Linked DNA regions of Homo sapiens: regions 1, 3 and 4 are each linked to region 2. Evidence: promoter capture Hi-C in 16 types of primary human blood cells and fetal thymus (Javierre and others, 2016). All regions are on one chromosome and are shown on one strand. The core of a region is centred on a gene start or on the middle of the fragment in contact, and the rest is flanking DNA. Distances in the headings are between cores, read along the strand shown. Region 1 overlaps SLC11A1 (solute carrier family 11 member 1). Region 2 holds the start of TMBIM1 (transmembrane BAX inhibitor motif containing 1). Region 3 has its middle 22 kb from the start of CXCR1. Region 4 holds the start of ARPC2 (actin related protein 2/3 complex subunit 2).

Region 1 (2,700 bases), core at 201-2,700, 100 kb after region 2:
TCACCCCCACCCCAGGGCTTCCTGAGGCTGCGGTGGTCACGCTTCGCCCGTGTCCTCCTCACCCGCTCCTGCGCCATCCTGCCCACCGTGCTCGTGGCTGTCTTCCGGGACCTGAGGGACTTGTCGGGCCTCAATGATCTGCTCAACGTGCTGCAGAGCCTGCTGGTGAGATGCGCCAACCCCACCAGCCCTGCCCACTGCTGAGCGAAACAGGACCTCCAGCAACCCCCACGCTGAGCCTTGCATGGGCCTGCCAGGCCCTGTCCCAGGCACATCTTGCCTACAAGGCTTCCATTGTCCCCACAGCCACCCTGGGGGGCAGGAGGGTAGGAATCACCATTATCCTTCCCCCCTCCCACCCCCCAGATGGTCTCCCTCTGTCACCTAGGCTGGAGTGCAGTGGTTCAATCATGGCTCACTGCAGCCTGCCCTCCCTGTCTCTAGCAATCTTCCCACCTCAGGCTCCCGAGTAGCAGGGACTATAGGTGCATGCCATCACACCCAGCTAATTTTTTTTTTTTTTTTTTTGAGACGGAGTTTCACTCTTGTTACCCAGGCTAGAGTGCAGTGGTGAGATCTTGGCTCACTGCAACCTCTGCCTCCCAGGTTCAAGCGATTCTTCTGCCTCAGCCTCCTAAGTAGCTGAGATTACAAGCGCCCACCATCACACCCAGCTAATTTTTTGTATTTTTAGTAGAGACAGGGTTTCATCATGTTGGCCAGGCTAGTCTCAAACTCCTGACCTCAGGTGATCCACCCGCCTTGGCCTCCCAAAGTGCAAGGATTACAGGCATGAGCCACTGAGGCAGGTCTAATTTTTTTTTTTTTTTAAGTAGAGACAAAAGCTCATTATGTTTGTTGCCCAGGCTCATTATTCCATTTTACAGATGGGAAAACTGATGCACTCAGTTAAGTTACTAGTGGCAGGGCTTGGATTCAAACCGAAGCAACCTGGTGCCAGAGCCCCCAAACACTTTCTCCTGCTTTGGAGCCCACAACCTGATAAGGCAGGAGACGGGGAAGTAGGCTCAGTGTGGTTAGGGCAGTTGAGCTCACACCCACACAGAGGGTGTCAAGCCACGCCCATCTTGCCCCCACCCTTGCCATATTCTGAGGCAGAATTCCTCAGCCTAGGCTCCTGCTGCTCTCCCCAGCTCCCGTTCGCCGTGCTGCCCATCCTCACGTTCACCAGCATGCCCACCCTCATGCAGGAGTTTGCCAATGGCCTGTGAGTACCCCCTTTCCCAAGTGCTGGATTGCATCACCACATTTCATCCTCACAGCCACCCAGAGGTACGAGCTACAATTCTCCCCATTATCCCAATGAAGCCACAGAGGCTGAGAGAGGTTAAGGGACTTACCCAGGTTCACACAGCTAGCAAGTTGAGGAGCCAAGACTGGAATCCAGGGAAGAGGGCTGTTTCTAGAGCCTGAGCGCCTCACTCTCGCCTCAGACTCAGCTCTTGCCAAATCCCGCCAGTGTGTAGCCTGGAGGGCCCAGGAGGCAGGAGGTGGGGAGGGGGTCTGTCTGCTCCAGGTCCCACAGACCAGAGAAGCGGCCTCAGTGTATCCCCACCCCCAGTGTGGGCGCTGGGAGATGAAGAGGAGTTGATGCAGGTGGGCCAGCAGCAACCAGCCAGTCCTGAGCCTCTCTCGTGTCCCCCAGGCTGAACAAGGTCGTCACCTCTTCCATCATGGTGCTAGTCTGCGCCATCAACCTCTACTTCGTGGTCAGCTATCTGCCCAGCCTGCCCCACCCTGCCTACTTCGGCCTTGCAGCCTTGCTGGCCGCAGCCTACCTGGGCCTCAGCACCTACCTGGTACAGTAGGGCCAGGGGATGCCTTGGGAATGGATGAGGGAAGGACAAGAGGCAACCAATGGGGAGGGTTTGGGGGGACACAATGGGGCTTCCCCAGAGGTCTTGGCATCTCCCCAATTCATGGTTGCCCCTCCCCCAGGTCTGGACCTGTTGCCTTGCCCACGGAGCCACCTTTCTGGCCCACAGCTCCCACCACCACTTCCTGTATGGGCTCCTTGAAGAGGACCAGAAAGGGGAGACCTCTGGCTAGGCCCACACCAGGGCCTGGCTGGGAGTGGCATGTATGACGTGACTGGCCTGCTGGATGTGGAGGGGGCGCGTGCAGGCAGCAGGATAGAGTGGGACAGTTCCTGAGACCAGCCAACCTGGGGGCTTTAGGGACCTGCTGTTTCCTAGCGCAGCCATGTGATTACCCTCTGGGTCTCAGTGTCCTCATCTGTAAAATGGAGACACCACCACCCTTGCCATGGAGGTTAAGCACTTTAACACAGTGTCTGGCACTTGGGACAAAAACAAACAAACGAAAAACATTTCAAAAGGTATTTATTGAGCACCTGCAGGCGTGACCTGACAGCCCAAGGGTGGGTGGGGTGAGGGCTTGAGGACTTGGGCGGGACACAGGCTCCAAACTGGAGCTTGAAATAGTGTCTGATGAATGTTAAATTATCTATCTATCTATTTATTTATTTATTTGAGACAGGGAAAGGGTCTCCCTCTGTTGCCAAGGCTGGAGTGCAGTGGCGCAATCTTAACTCATTGCAACCTCCACCTTCTGGGTTCAAGCGATTCTCTTTATTCAGCCCCGGGAGTGGCGCGCGCCACCACGCCCAGCTAATTTGTGTATTTTCAGCAGAGACGGGGTTTGCCATGCTGGCCAGGC
Region 2 (2,700 bases), core at 124-2,623:
CATGACATGAGGCTCTCCCAACACTTACAGGATAACCCATCATTACCTCTCTGAAGGGCTCATTTTTACAAGTGAGGCCTTGAGGTCATAGCACAGAAAGACAGGGCCCCTGACACTGTGGTCCTGCCTCTTCCATTTAAGCTATAAACTGGTTCTCTGGATCCTCATGACTGGAGAGACAGAGAGAGGAGGCAGGTGAGAAGGAAGTATGGCTCCCCCTTTGCGCCAATAAAGCAGCCCCAGGAGGCACCTGGCTCCCCTGCCACCACTGGCCAGCCCAAAGTCGCCAGCTTGGAAACCAAAGCTCACTAATGAGATGAATATTTCAGAGCCCAGAGAACTGGACACCTGAGGGCCCTTCCATGACATCTGGCTCTGACCTGCGTTCCCAGGCCTACTTATCCCATGTCCAGGGTGCTCAGGTAGAACCCCAAACTCCTGGGTACCACGTAGAGGCCACAGAGGAGGGAGAGGAGATGGAGACCCCATAGGACAAGAATTGGTGCCGACCCCACAAGGCCAGGGCCTGGCCTCCCAGCAGCCTCCCTCTGCTTCCTCCCACTGGTCCCTGGCTCCTGCCCCAGTCTCTCCACTTGCTTTCCCTTTTCCCGTTTCTCTGTTTTGTTTTCACTCTAACCCAAAGAAGTCACGAGGAGGATGTTACTCCCCTGTAGTTCTGTGAACCCAGCCGGGAAACAGTGGCTGGAAGTGGGACTGGCAGAGGGCAAAGTCATGGTGATAGAGGTGGCCACTTCCCCATGCCAAACACTTGAGCTGCTCATTGGCTTCTGCCCCAGCTGCAAGCTAGGACCCCCCCTTCCCCACCCCTTAAATATTCACCTGTCTACACCGAGACTGGCCTCAGCGCGTGTGGGGGCAACCTGGGGTCCGTGCCAGGCCCTGGCTGTCTCCCCTCCCTCTTCCCTCTTCTCACCAGCTGAGGGCCATGAAAGCCCTCATCCCACACAGCTGGCCACTCGGGCTGGCATGGTGGATAGGCCCTGCGACAGAGAGGCCACTCGTGCCCGAAAGAGGGAACACGAGGACACCCCCAGACCCTGGCTCCGCTCACCAGTGCCCACAACACGCTGCTGGGCTCCCAAGGCTAACCAGGTGCCACAGACCCGGCCGCCCACCCGCGCGCCCAGGGAGAGCGAAACGCCAAGGGCCAGGAGGGGAGATCCCCATCTGGAACGGGCTCCTTGGGCCCAGGAGCGGGCAAGCCGGGAGCGCGCTCCGAAAAGTTTAGGCGCCCCGGCGCATGGCCGCCCCAGCCCTGGACCAGTCCCCACCGCCCACAGTCCCCAACGGCGCCGGCCCCGGCCCCCTGGCTTGCCTGCGCCGTTCCAGACGGAGCGTTCCTGGCCTCGGAGTGTTGCAAGTCCTCCGGGGCCGGGCAGGGCTAGGCTCGGCTGGGGCTCCGCGCCCCGCCCCGTCGCGCCGGCCTCGTGGGGCGGGGCCTCAGGGCGCCGCCAGGGGGCGCAGGGGTCTGTCCCGGGCGCGCGCGCCTCTCAGAGCCCCGACGACGCCTCACTAATAACACAGGGGTATTTTCGGATTTAAAGGCAATACATGATACTGATAGGAAGCTAGAAAAGACACAGAAATGCAGGGAAGAAAGTAATTTCTCTCCACCCCTCCTAGTTCCCAGGGGGAAGCGTTCGCTTTGGGTCCTTCTTTGGCTATTACATTTCTGTATGTATTTTGTTTTTCTACAGTGGGGTATATTGTATGGTGTTTTGTTTACTGCCCTTCTTTTTACTGTTTTATGATGAACATTTTTCTTCTCACTAAATAGTCTTCAAAAGCACAATCTTAATGCCGTGAAGTATTCCATTGCATGGCTATGCGGATTAAATTAATTTCCTACTGGAGGCCGTTTGTTTCCCATTTTTACATTACAAATAAATCAGTAATTAAAATCCTTGATAATTCTGTGTTTTTGAGATAAATGCACTTTTCGAGTTTAAAACTGCAAACATGCAAACCTAGAATCTCTGTTTATAATTACTCAACCAGGAAAGCAGGTGCTTTCCTCAAGTCAGAATTCAGAAGTCCTACATTGAGATGTAGATTACTACTGTTAGGTAGGTCTTAACCCTCATCTCAGTGAAGAATGCAGTAGCAAAGGAGGAAACAGTTTTGAGGAAGTTCTGAAATATTACTGGAGCCTGGGCATGGTGACTCACACCTGCGATCCTAGCACTTTTGGGAGGCCAAGGCCAGAGGATGGCTTGAGCCCAGGAGTTGGAGACCCAGCCTAGGCAACATAGAGAGACCTTGTCTCAATTTAAAAAGAGAAACATTACCGAGCCTTGCCTGAGTTTCTGTGGTTCCAAAGTCCAAGTTCTTTCCATGACACCAAGGCTGCCAGTAGTTGACCAACTCTGTTTAAAGTGCTTATCTCATGTTAATAGCTATAGGTCAGCACCACACCACCACTGAATGTCCTTTTTTTTTTTTTTTTTTTTTTCCAGACAGGGTCTCGCTCTGTCACCCAGGCTGGAGTGCAGTGGCGCCATCTCGGCTCACTGCATCCTCCTCCTGGTTTCAAGTGATTCTCCGGCCTCAGCCTCCTGAGTAGCTGGGATTACAAGTGTGTGCCACTACACCCAGCTAATTTTGTTTGTTTGCTTGTTTGTTTTGTTTGGTTTGTTTGTTTTGTAGAGATGGGTTTTCACGTTGTTGCATAGGCTGGTC
Region 3 (2,700 bases), core at 162-2,661, 100 kb before region 2:
TTTGAAACATGTGACATAGTTCCCATTACATATTTTCAATGTTTAAAAAATAATTTTAAAATGTTAAACAGTCATAATTCAACCATGGTGGCAGGAGGTCTGTGGTGCAGCTGAGAAACTGCTCTAAGCTCTGGCATGTGCAGTTGTATGTCTTCTGGCTGCTCTGTCTCAATTTCCACCCACAGAGCCAAGGAAGCCTCCAGCCAATTCCAGGGAGCATCTTTCTGGGCCCTGGGTTTAGAGACCTGTGATTCTCTTTATTCCCTCTGCTCCAGATTCTCCAAATCAGCTCACTTTGGGCTCTCTTGGCCCTGTGTCTTTCCTGTCACTGGTTTGTCAACTGCCTCCACTCAGTGCCTCCCCTTAGCCCTTCCTGTCCTTACGGTTTCTAAATGCAATTCTAATAGCTTCACAAATGTGCTCCTCCACTTTCCTAGGCACCAAGGAAACCTTGACCCACAGGCTTTAATTTTACCCTTGCAGTGAATTCTTATTGACTTTCACTGACCACTGGAACCCACCTACTTGCCCTGAGAACACTCCCATTATCTTTCAATTAAAATAAGACCCTTGATTTATACTTTAATATACATATATCCAGGCTGGGCACAGTGGCTCACCCCTGTAATTCCAGCACTTTAGGAGGTCGAGGCAGGAGGATCGTTTAAGCCCAGGCATTCAAGACCAGCCTGGGCAACACAGTGGAACCTCATACCTCTACAAAGCAATTTTCAAAATTAGCCAGGTGTGGTGGAACACACCTGTGGTCCCAGCTACTCAGGAGGCTGAGGTGGGAGGATTGCTCAAGCCCAGGAGGTCAAGGATGCAATGAGCCATGATCACACCACTGCACTCCAGCCTGGGCAACAGACCAAAACCTTGTCTCAAAAAATAATTTTATATACATATATATACACACATGTATCCAGACTCCTGCTGAAACTACCTCTCCCTGTTCCAATGCCACACATCTAGTTCAGCCTGCAGATGAGTTTCTTTGACTGCCTGGGATTGGTTTCCTTGTTTGTTTAAATTAGAATTGGTTTCTGACTTTTAAACCTTGAGGCTTTTTCACATTTAAAAACATCTGGATTTATACACTCTCCTTTAAAATTTTGAAGATCTGGGCTGGGCGCCATGGCTCATGCCTGTAATCCCAGCTCTTTGGGAGGCCAAGGCGGGTGGATCACCTGAGGTCAGGAGTTCAAGAAGAGCCTGGCCAACATGGTGAAACCCTGTCTCCACTAAAAATATGAAAATTTGCTGGACATGGTGGCATGCACCTGTAATCCCAGCTACTCAGGAGGCTGAGGCGGGAGAATCACTTGAACCCGGGAGGTAGAGGTTGCAGTGAGCCGAGATCATACCATTGCACTCCAGCCTGGGAGACAAAAGCAAAACTCCATCTTAAAAAAAAAAAAAAAAAAAAAAAAAATTGAAGATTTGACAACACTGAGCTCATGGCAAAACTCAGCTAAACCTAGAATGTAAAAGAAATCCTAGAAATAGAGCCACACTTACACCATCACTTGATTTTCAACAGAAGTTCCAAAGCAATCCAGTGAGGGAAAGGAAGGTTTTATCAACAATGTGGGCCAGACACAGTGGCTCACGCCTGTAATCCACGCACTTTGGGAGGCCAAGGCAGGTGGATCACTTGAGGCCAGGAGTTTGAGACCAGCCTGGGCAGCCTGGCGAAACCCCATCTCTACAAAAAATGCAAAAATTAGCCAGGCGTGCTGATATGCACCTATAGTCCCAACTACTCAAGAGGCTGAGGTGGGAGAATTGTTTGAGCCTCGTAGGCAGAGGTTGCAGTGAGCTGAGACCCAGCCTGGGTGAAAGTGAGATTCTATCTGAAAAGAAAAAAAAGAAAGAAAAAGAAAAGAAATCTCATTACACAATCAAACATCACATCACCAGAATGACTAAAAATACAAAAGCATGATAATATCGACTATTAGTGGGTTGTAGTATAGCTGGAATCCTCACATATAATTAGTGGGAATGTAAAATGGTGCAAACACTTTGGTAAAAGGTCTGGCAGTTTCTTCTACTTTCTGACCCAGCAATCCCACTCCTAGGAATATGCCCAAGAGAAATGAAAATAATATGTTCACAAAAATATCAATAGCTTTATTGATAATTGCCAAAAACTAGAAACAGTCCAGGTGTCCATCAATAGGAGAATGGCTAAACATACAGTGGAATAGTCATACAATGGAGTCATTCTCATCAATAAAAAGGACTGAATTACTGATATACTCCACAACATGATGTATCTTAAAAACATTACACTGAGTAAAAGAAGCCTTCCACTTCTATGAAGTTCTAGAACAGGTGAAACTAATCTGAAAATAATCAGAGCAGAAGTTACCTCTGGGAGGATGGAGGCAGAGACAAACCAGCCATGGGGGGACATGAGAGGATTTTTAGGAATGATGGTAATGTTTTCTATATTGATGGGCATTGGGATTACACAGGGGCACCTATTAGTTGAAACTTAGTGAATATACACTTAAGATTTGTGCACTTCATTGTCTACAAATTTTACATCAAAAGAAAACACTAAAGGCCAGGTGCAGTGGCTCACGCCTGTAATCCTAGCACTTTAGGAGGCCAAGGTAGGAGGATCACTTGAGGTCAGGAGTTTGAGACCAGCCTGGCCAACATGGTGAAGCCCCGTCTCTACTAAAAATA
Region 4 (2,700 bases), core at 152-2,651, 75 kb before region 2:
AGGCACCTTTAATCCCAGCTATTTGGGAGGCTGAGGCAGGAGAATCGCTTGAACCGGGGAGGCAGAGGTTGCAGTGAGCCGAGATCATGCCATTGCACTCCAGCCTGGGCAAGAGTGCAAGACTCTGTCTCAAAAAAAAAAAAATTTAAGTTAGCGTATAATTTTAGGGGATCAGCAATATCCTGAAGCTTATCCATAGCCCGTTAAGTAATGTTTCAAAGGGCTATCTGTGCCTTAATGATAGGAGCTAGTTTCTTGTTCATTTTTTTATCCCCATCCCCAAACACATAGCAGAAAATAAATTATTTCCTTGTATGTAGAACGGACTCAGCTAAGTTTATTATATTCTCCCCGGAGGAGGGAAAACACAAAACAAGGCACAAAGGCAGAAGGTGCAGATGTAGCACAACGATGAGTTAAGATTCCGCACGCAGGTAACAAGGAGGGTATGGTATATCTCTGCCAGAGGTACTGGAAGGTTTCAAAGGCAGAAAAAAATGTGTTCCGGACACCTGGACGCAGAATTGGAGGCATGACAGGAACACAGGGAGGCCCATCTAAGTTGCCTATTCACCCAGGTGACCTCTCTTTCATTTCTTTAATTGTCCTTTTAACAATATGGGGAATTTCACCCAAGGAAAGGGTCCTCTTCTCGCCCCAGCAGGCAAGGGGTGTTCCTCCAGCGCAAGTTCCGGCCCCAGCTGCCCCCACGTCCCACAGGTCTCCTGCCTTTTGGCACGCACACTCCTGACCACTCGCTGCTTCCGCATCCCTACTCTGATCCTCTCCCCATGCATCTCTGCCTCCTTAGACAACTGAGAATTTTATTGTCTGTTTCCTTTGCCAGACTGTAAGTTCCACGAGGGCAGGGCCTCGTCCATTTCATTTACCACTACATCCCCAGTATAGAGCAAGAGCCCATGAAAATGTTTGTTGGAGAAATGAATGCATGATGGTGTCGCTGGACAGCTATACCTGGAAAGAAAAAGAGGCACCCCCATCAAACAAGCTGGGAGCTAAGAAGCCCGCTGGGAGACGACAAGGGCGAGCTTCTTGCGAGGTTTCTGAAATGACAAGACCGGAAGAATGGAGTTGGATCTCTGGGACAAGCGGGAGAGAGAAGCTGAACAGTCAGGCAAGCCTCGGGGAATGACAGCTCCGCGGGGGACGCACTGGTAGGCGGTAGACGTAAGCGGGGTCGGTGGGAAAGTAGACGGTGGGGCGGCGGCATCACACATACGCAAGCGCAGCCTCCGTTTCCTCCGGCGCGCCTGCGCTCGCGTTCACGAGTGGTTGAAGCGGAAATGGCGCCGCGGGGCCGCGCGTCCAGGCGGCGAGCGGAAGTGGGTGTGAGAGCGGAAGTGGCCGGCTAGAGCCGGGGGCTGGGCGGGGACCGGGCTTGTCGGTGAAGCGGCAGTGGCGGCGGCGGCGGCGGCTCGGCAGGCGGGTTCAGGCTTCGGGGGCCAGGTCGGTTGGGTGGGTGGGTGTCTCCACAGTCTGCGTGCGTGGGCCAGCGCGTTCGTCTTACCCTTCCCTCCACCCCGGCCCCTCTCCCCTTCTCCCCTAACCTCCTACCCCACCCAGCCCCACTCAGGGGGCAGCAGGGCCGCTCCCTCCGTCCTTGCCTCCCTTACCCACCCTCACCGGCCCTTGTTTCTCCTTCCCCTGGGGGCAGCCGCCGCCATGATCCTGCTGGAGGTGAACAACCGCATCATCGAGGAGACGCTCGCGCTCAAGTTCGAGAACGCGGCCGCCGGGTGAGCGCGCGCCCGGGGCCGGGGGTGGCGGGGGAAGCAGAGTTGACCCCAGCTAATCCCCAATGTTGTCCAGTCCCCCAGACCTGGAGGAGAGAAATGGGGTGCCTGGCAGGGTGTAGGGGCTGCCCCAGCGGGGTAGACGTGGGAGGCGATTGGGCGCGGCCGGGCGAGGGGCAGAGATGCGTGGGGAGAGGCTCAGAGGAGGGATGCGGAAGCAGCGAGTGGTGAGGGCTGTGCGTGCCAAAGGGCAGGAGACCTGTGGGACGTGGGGGACCCTGGAGCCGGAACTCGCTCCGGAGTAGCCCCCTGCCCTCTGGGGCGAGAAGGGGACCCCTTCCCTGCGTGAAATTCCCCGGCATTGTTCTGAACCCAGAGAGAGCCTGTTTGGAATTGGGTTGGAAGGAGTTTTCAGGAATTCCCAGGACTGGAGGAGGGAAGGAGATGCAGGCCCACATCGCCACCAGCATTCTCGTTCCCCACCCCCATCTCCTTTAAAAGGAGCAGAAGAGAAGACTAAAAGCCGACCCAGTCTTAGAGCCGGAAAAACGCGATCTCTGGTTTCCCTTCCCCGAACCCTTCTGTGAGAGACACTGGGCCATTTTGTTACATATTTTTAAAGCAAAGCCAATTGTCCCTCGCTCCACACCCCTTCCTTATCTCTCCTTTGAGGTTCTAATGCTCTCTCCTCACCCACTAGCCTTTATCTGGTTATCTTGTAAATTCTTACATCAAGACCCTAGGTCTGTGATTTCTTCTGTGGTAGCCCTGGCCCAGTTACACACTTCAAAGACTCCAGAATCTATAAAGTTCTTAGATAACCTGTCTTTACGATTGGACTTTTTAAAAGATGGGCTTAGGGCATCTTTCCAAGGCAGCCTCTCTGCCAAACACAAGAATCAGTAGAAGACAATCTGCTCCTCCAAAGCTGCTTTGCTTTTCTAGT

What was found. Contacts are between HindIII fragments. The CHiCAGO score rates a contact against its expected background, and 5 or more counts as called.
Region 1: a contact is called between a fragment that was not itself captured here and the fragment with the promoter of TMBIM1 in region 2, in 11 of 17 cell types (erythroblasts, total CD8 T cells, monocytes and 8 more). The highest score is 7.5, in erythroblasts.
Region 3: a fragment that was not itself captured here is called in contact with the fragment with the promoter of TMBIM1 in region 2 in 1 of 17 cell types (M2 macrophages); the score reaches 5.2 in M2 macrophages.
Region 4: a contact is called between the fragment with the promoter of ARPC2 here and the fragment with the promoter of TMBIM1 in region 2, in 3 of 17 cell types (naive CD4 T cells, naive CD8 T cells and non-activated CD4 T cells). The highest score is 5.9, in naive CD4 T cells.

What each region holds. Positions count from the first base shown.
Region 1 is chr2:218,392,966-218,395,665 of GRCh38, forward strand. SLC11A1 (solute carrier family 11 member 1) reads left to right here. Exons shown (of 15, transcript NM_000578.4): 12 at 16-165; 13 at 1,155-1,228; 14 at 1,667-1,820; 15 at 1,960-2,700. The coding sequence ends at 2,070. Among named protein-coding and RNA genes, the nearest start is that of CTDSP1, 5.6 kb to the right of the region's middle. RefSeq lists enhancers at 1-284, 954-1,622, 1,623-2,291. The HindIII fragment of the contact is 5,382 bases long and covers 1-2,700 here.
Region 2 is chr2:218,291,130-218,293,829 of GRCh38, forward strand. TMBIM1 (transmembrane BAX inhibitor motif containing 1) reads right to left here and starts at 1,374. Exons shown (of 12, transcript NM_022152.6): 1 at 1,337-1,374. All of the region lies in intron 2 of PNKD (PNKD metallo-beta-lactamase domain containing), which reads left to right. RefSeq lists enhancers at 1-906, 907-1,869, 2,052-2,700 and a silencer at 1,152-1,631. The HindIII fragment of the contact is 24,107 bases long and covers 1-2,700 here.
Region 3 is chr2:218,187,678-218,190,377 of GRCh38, forward strand. No RefSeq gene overlaps it. Among named protein-coding and RNA genes, the nearest start is that of CXCR1, 22 kb to the left of the region's middle. The HindIII fragment of the contact is 6,006 bases long and covers 1-2,700 here.
Region 4 is chr2:218,215,788-218,218,487 of GRCh38, forward strand. ARPC2 (actin related protein 2/3 complex subunit 2) reads left to right here and starts at 1,402. Exons shown (of 11, transcript NM_152862.3): 1 at 1,402-1,467; 2 at 1,676-1,757. The coding sequence starts at 1,684. LOC101928487 (a long non-coding RNA gene) reads right to left here and starts at 1,399. Exons shown (of 2, transcript XR_923908.2): 1 at 1,241-1,399; 2 at 314-1,064. RefSeq lists an enhancer at 1,411-2,014 and a silencer at 1,536-1,585. The HindIII fragment of the contact is 6,430 bases long and covers 187-2,700 here.